Linked DNA regions of Homo sapiens: region 1 is linked to region 2. The links are contacts of gene promoters, found by promoter capture Hi-C in human tissues and cell types (Jung and others, 2019). All regions are on one chromosome and are shown on one strand. Each heading gives the region's core, a stretch centred on a gene start or on the middle of the fragment in contact. The rest is flanking DNA. Distances are from core to core; before and after follow the strand shown.

The links. The method cuts DNA at HindIII sites, captures the fragments that hold promoters and counts their contacts. A contact is called where the count stands out against the background at its distance.
Region 1: a contact is called between a fragment that was not itself captured here and the fragment with the promoter of GTSCR1 in region 2, in 1 of the 25 tissues and cell types used here (stomach).

The regions. Positions count from the first base shown.
Region 1 is chr18:70,702,906-70,706,448 of GRCh38, reverse strand. No RefSeq gene overlaps it. Among named protein-coding and RNA genes, the nearest start is that of GTSCR1, 54 kb to the right of the region's middle. The HindIII fragment of the contact is 7,576 bases long and covers 1-3,543 here.
Region 2 is chr18:70,649,375-70,652,589 of GRCh38, reverse strand. It overlaps GTSCR1 (Gilles de la Tourette syndrome chromosome region, candidate 1), which reads left to right and starts at 1,636. Exons shown (of 3, transcript NR_160904.1): 1 at 1,636-1,980. The HindIII fragment of the contact is 9,016 bases long and covers 1-3,215 here.

The sequences.
Region 1 (3,543 bases), core at 45-2,544, 54 kb before region 2:
ACATCAGGTTTCTGGAATATCATTTCTCCAGAGATTGCTGTCCTGAAACGTCAGGTAAGGCAAGCTCCTACTGTGTTGCACTCCCACAACATCCTGCAGGTCCACATTTTTAACACTCTTTATCCTTACTGTTCCACAGTCAATGTCTGATCTGATCTTGCCCACTCGATTGTAAACTCCATGAGAAAAGTTTTATTTGTCTTGCTTCTCTAACATCTAGCCAAAGTATCACCCAGTAACCTCTTAACTAATATGTACTGATGGATGGATGGATGGATGGAAGGAAGGAAGGAAAGAAGGAAGGAAGGAAGGAAGGAAGGAAGGAAGGAAGGAAGGAAGGAAGGAAGGAAGGAAGGACTTAGAGCTAAAGTATAAGATTAGAGAACAATTGGCAGAGCTATTTTGATCTGAAATATTGAGCTAGTGGTCAGGGATTGATTTTAAAACCAGAGGTCAGACTCAGACAATAGGAAACAGAAAGAGGTCCAGATATGAAAATAGAAGACAGCCAGACTTGGGGCAGGCAGCATGCATTCCAGCAACCACCAGCCAATAGGTGCAACTGCTCATTACAATTTCTCTGCAGGGAAGACAATAATAACATGTCATTAACACACGCAAGCACATTTTACCTTCCCATTTGCTACAACATTAATTCAACAGATGCTCTTGGAGGGCCTGTCTGAAAGAGTCAAAGTTATTTGAGGAAACTTGTTAAGTTTACAGTTCTCAAAGAGTTCACAGTTTCATAACACAGAACGCAATCATTTTATTACATAATTTGGATATGAAGAGAATAAGCAGTATTAGGACATAACAGTCTTTGTAATAATTCAACATAATTATAGTATTTGTTATTTTTACCTATCTCTTTTTTGTAATAGAATTATGAAAAATACATTAAAGAATTATTACTAGACTAAGATTTATATTTGAATTTGTCATAGCATTTACAAACTGCAAATTTAAAGGTTTATGTAATTTTGACTAACAAGATAAACAAAACAGTCTCTAATTCTTTTTAAAATAATATAGAAGGAAGTACAAATGAAATCCTTAGTACAATAGTTGCTTCTGCAACTTTGCGCTTTATCAAGCATTCAGTGCGCTAGGTGAGTAACACCTATTTTGGTTGCCTTCCCCTTTTCAGGCTACCCTTTTAGTAGCAAATTCTTATGGCTTGAGTATTTATAAAGCCAGGAACATGATTATTTAGAAGAACCAAGATTGATGGAACTGCAGAAAGGTTACAATTTGTTTAATAGATATTCAATTAAGTAAGCAAATGCATAGAAAAGAACCCAATATAAAAAACTGTGCAGCAGGATTAACTTTCCATCCTTCCTCACACGTGTACTGGTGAACACTCAGCTGAGACTGGTTACTGCAGAGACTGTCATGGCTCCTGTCTAGATCCATTTTTGTTGCCTTCCTGACCCTGAGGCTCCAACCCAAGGTGTACACAGGTGCAACTCTGTACCAAAGCTGATATGATCATTATTGACCATTCTGATAGATTGTTGCTGCCACCAGTTGCATATACGTTGTGCTGTTATTTCTACTTCTGTCTAGTTATTACAACAAATCAGGATGTATTAATGTAAAGAAGATGTAGGAAAGAGTATATACTTTGGCAACACAGAGATCAGGACCCAGATCCCTGACCAGATACACATCTGCTCAGTTATCTTTCTGATTGATTTGAACTTTAGTTCCTCACCTGAAAAGTGGGGAGGAACATAGAAGAAACACCCTTACTTCAACACAATGGGCCTTCACGCATGTCCTGAACCTTCACTATACTTTCATGCAGGAAATATAAAACATACTTCTCCTTATGAATGCTCACATCTGCTGTGAATTAGTTCTGATTTGTGTCTGTGGTGTAGAAAAACTGATTCTCACAGGAATAAAAAATATATTTCAGAAAACCCAATCTTATTTTTTTATAGATAGAAAGAAAACATATAAGTAATACGGGAAGAAATTGAAACAGAGCAGAGTATCTATTGATTCTTTCCTGGGGGGAAATATATCTACAAAGATAATTGGGCCAAATAGTATAGAAAGGATTTAGGAGCATCAGTCAGGACAGAATCTCAACAACTTTCATTACACACTTCTCTTTTTCCAATTCTGTGTGTGTCTCAGTCTGCTTAGGCTGCTATGATGAACTACTATCAACTGAGTGGCTTATAAATAATAGAAATATATTTCTCACAGCTCTAAAGGGTGGGAAGTCCAAGATCAAGGTAAATTCAGTGTCTGGAGAGGACAGGGCAGCTTTCTGAGGCCTCCTTTACAAGGAAACTAATCCCATTCATGTGGGTTCCAGCTTCATAATCTAATTACTTCCCAAAGGCTCCATCTCTTAATATCATCACATTTGTAATTAGATTTCAACATATGAATGGGAGTACAGGGGCACAACATTCAGATCATAGCAGTGTATTTCAGAACACATATATTAGTGAATAATTAAAATGAATCACAGCTGAGGTCTTGCCAATATGAGATCAACTACACTCCTCCCCTTTGCCAGAGCACATCTTACGGTGCAGTGTGCAGGGCAATTTTCAGCTGTCCTCAACTTGGGTACTGGAAACTGAGTCTAATGCAACTATACCACTACCTAGTTCTGGGCCTTTGGAGAGGTGGTTGTAGTGGGTTGAAATGGTGGACCTCAAAAGATCTGTGTACACAGCACCTCAGATTGTGACGTTATTTGGGAAAAGGTTGTTTTTTGGAAATGTGACTCAGTTAAGAATCATTCTCAGCAAACTATCGCAAGGACAAAAAACCAAACATCACATGTTCTCACTCATAGGTGGGAATTGAACAATGAGAACACTTGGACACAGGAAGGGGGACATCACACCCTGGGGCCTGTTGTGAGGTGGGGGGAGGGGGGAGGGATAGCATTAGGAGATATACCTAATGATGAGTTAATGGGTGCAGCACACCAACATGGCACATGTATACATTTGTAACAAACTTGCACATTGTGCACGTGTACCCTAGAACTTAAAGTGTAATAATAAAAAAATTAATTAATTAAAAAATAAAGAATCTCATAATGAGATCTTCCTGAATTTAGGGTGGGTTCTAAATTCAATGACATGTGTCCTTATAAAAGATAGAGGAGGAGACATCTTAGAGAAACACTGGGAAGAAGGCCATGGAAAGACAGAGGCAGAGATTGATGTGGTACAGCCCTAAGCCAAGCAAAAACCAGAGCCATGAAAAGCTGGAAGAGGCAAGGAAGAACTCTTTCCTGCAGCCTTCATCTTGATCTCTTGACAACATCTTGATCTTGGAATTCTGGCCTAGAGAACTATGAGAGAATAAATTTCTGTGGTTTTAAGTCATCATGTATGGGGGTAATTGCTTATGGCAGCCCTAGGAAGCCAATACAGTGGGACTCAGTTTCCTCACATATGAAATAATAGTGTTGGAGTACATGATCTCTAAAGGGTCTTCTAACTTGGATTCATTGACTATGATTAGCTGGCACATAGGGAGGCTGAAAAAAAAATCCTGAGG
Region 2 (3,215 bases), core at 387-2,886:
AGCCACACTATGGGTATTATTTTCTGAGGCAGTCAAAATTGACTGCCACTCATTTTTCAAAATCTGTTCTATGACTGCAAGCTCTCAAAGACAGCAATGCAGAAAGGATAGGAGATTGAGTCCTGCATATGGACTCTTCCATAAATCAATGTGATGAAGGACAATATAATCTCTTATCTTGCTGAAAATTAGTGAGCAAGACCCATGTCATATTCATATTGTGCCCTACTTAGTGTCTCACTCATAATAAACACAACAAATACTTTACAAATGAAGAAGATGACTTCTATAAATCAGTGTGATCAAGGGCAGAGACACTAGCCCTGGTGATTGGAATTTCCCTGGAAGAACTACAACATGACTCCAATTATTTGAAAAATGAAATAGCTCACTAATATACAGGGAAGACTGAATATTAGAAGGCCCACATTAGACACATGCATTCTAGACCTAATTTGGGCCAGACATGTGCTCATTAGTGTATAATTCAACTTCAGATCTGGGGAAGGGGGTTGCAAGGTGGGGAAGGGCAGGGAATTCTTTTAGTCACATGTCCAATCCATACAGTACTCTCAGTCATTTGAAAACATAAAATCCAGGAAGGCAAGGCCAGCTTGCCTCTCCTTACCATCTGTTCACTCTCTCAGCTTCAGGGAACTTCAGGGAGCAGTTATACCGGGTACATCACAAATGTTTGACCTCAGCCACAAATGTTTGACCTCTGTGAATGCCACCAGCATCCAATAAATAGCTCAATATAGAGACCTAGGAATTATCTAAGACTCCTCCACTGCCCCAGGTTACATATCCAACCTTTATCGATCTTATCCATTTTACTTCCCAAATATCTCTCATTTTTCTCCATTTCCATTATTCCCACAGTAGTCCAAGCTAATGTCATCTTTCTCCAGTAATATGCCATCACTTGCTAACTGATCAAGCAATATCCACACTGCAAACCTCCTTCAGACGATCTATTCTGCCCTGCATAACCAGAGTGTCCCTTTCAAAATTCAAATCCAGTGTCACTACCCAAATCCCATCTCGAATTGTAACCCCCATGGTTTGGCTCTGTGTCCCCACCCAAATCCCATCTCGAATTGTAACCCCCATGTGTTGAGGAAGGGACCTGTAATCCCCAAATCTCAAGGGAAGGAGGTGACTGGATCATGTAAACAGTTTCCCCCATGCTGTTCTCATGACAGTGAGTGAGTTCTCATGAGATCTGATGGTTTATAAGTGTTTGACTGTTCCTCCTTCATAGGCTCTCTCTCGCCTGCCACCACGTAAGACATCCCTCCTTCCCCTTCTGACATGATTGTAAGTTTCCTGAGGCCTCACCAGCCATGCGGAACTGTGAGTCACCTAAATCTCTTTTCTGTATAAATGACCCAGTCTCAGGCAGTTCTTTACAGCAGTGTGAAAATGGACTAATATGCTACCCCATCTCCATCCCACTGCCATCCTCCCTAAAGCCCTACAGTAGATTGCTGTTACTCTTAGAATCAAGACCAGACTGCTTCCGGGGTCTATACCACCTTCTGTGGTTTTGTCCCCAGCTAGTTTACATCACATGCCCCTCCTCTTCCTTTCTCCATCACATTTCACATTTGCCATTTACTTTTTTTTTTTTTTCATTTCAACCTTCCTTTGCTTTTACCCTATCATGCTCCCTCACCCCACAAAGCTTTTGTACATTCTGCATCTCCTTCCTGGAACATTCTACCTCCCTCTGCATCTAGGTCTCTGCCTGAGCTCAGGTTCCCTAAAAAGCCTGGTCTGAGGCAATGACTAAAAAGGCTCCTATTTTGTTTAAGGACGTGCAAACTCATGGCAAGAAGGTGAGGAAAACAGCTACGGAGGGAAGGATGAGAAGCAATGCAAAGTGACATATACCATCCTGGCCACAGCTTCCCAAGTTGGGTCCTTTGCTGGGTGCACTCATGTGGCCATGAGGGACATCTCAGAGAGACTGCAGAGGTAAGCAAGATCTCTTTCCTGAAACAGTTTGTTCATCAGAAAAAGGGAGAAGAGGAAATGAATCTTCCTAGCTCTTTCAAGGTCTTTTTTCCTTATTACTCAATTCCCTGAACAGGGGGTTAATTCACTCAGTTTCAGATTGTGACTTCCAGCCTCATTATTTGGGAAGCCAGGCTGCAAACCATAGTACATTATTTTATCCAAACCTTGAAGTAATGGGGAAAACATTAAAAAAAAAAAAAAAAAAAAAAAAAAAAACAGAGACTCGGGTGCACAGCTGGTTAGATTGGCTGTAGGTGGCAGCCAAGGGGAGAGCCTGGCCTTCTGAGGTGCAGACTGGTCACGTTTAGGCAGGAGCATGGGTCAGCCAAGGCTGTGGCCTAATTAGAGGATACAGTGGAGCATTAAGTCAATGGCGATGCACTCTTAGAATGTGGCTACGCCCCTTGTAACCACTATGGTATTTACAACCATTCTAAGGACACAGAAAACTTGTTCATAGTATTAAGAAAAAATGGTATATAAAACTGTGTATAAAGTATGTTTCAATTATAATCTTTAATTCTGTTAGAATTCTTTTTTCCCAAGAGTATGCATTAACTTTACAGTTTTCTTAAAAAAAAAAATGGAAGAAAACAGTTTCCAAGAAGAAGGGTCAACAGATTCCACAGTATTGACTCAGGAAAGTGCAAGCATTGCAGGGACCAGGAACATCCAGGCTGGCAAGAAGCCAAAACAGGAGGGAGCGGGGAGGGGCGCAGCCCCGAAGCAATGTTAGGAGGCTCTGACCACTTTCCGAAGAACGTTGTATCTCCAAGGCCTTCGCTTCTCTATCTGTAAATTTCAAACAAGATCCCGGTGTGTGATGTTCCCCTTCCTGTGTCCATGTGTTCTCATTGTTCAATTCCCACCTAAGAGTGAGAACATGCCGTGTTTGGTTTTGTGTCCTTGCGATAGTTTGCTGAGAATGATGGTTTCCAGCTTCATCCATGTCCCTAAAAAGGACATGAACTCATCATTTTTTATGGCTGCATAGTATTCCATGGTGTATATGTGCCACATTTTCTTAATCCAGTCTATCATTGTTGGACATTTGGGTTGGTTCCAAGTCTTTGCTATTGTGAATAGTGCCGCAATGTTGTGGGGTGGGGGGAGGGGGGAGGGATAGCATTAGGAGATATACCTAATGTTAAATGATGAGTTAATGGGTGCAGCACACCCACATGGCACATGAA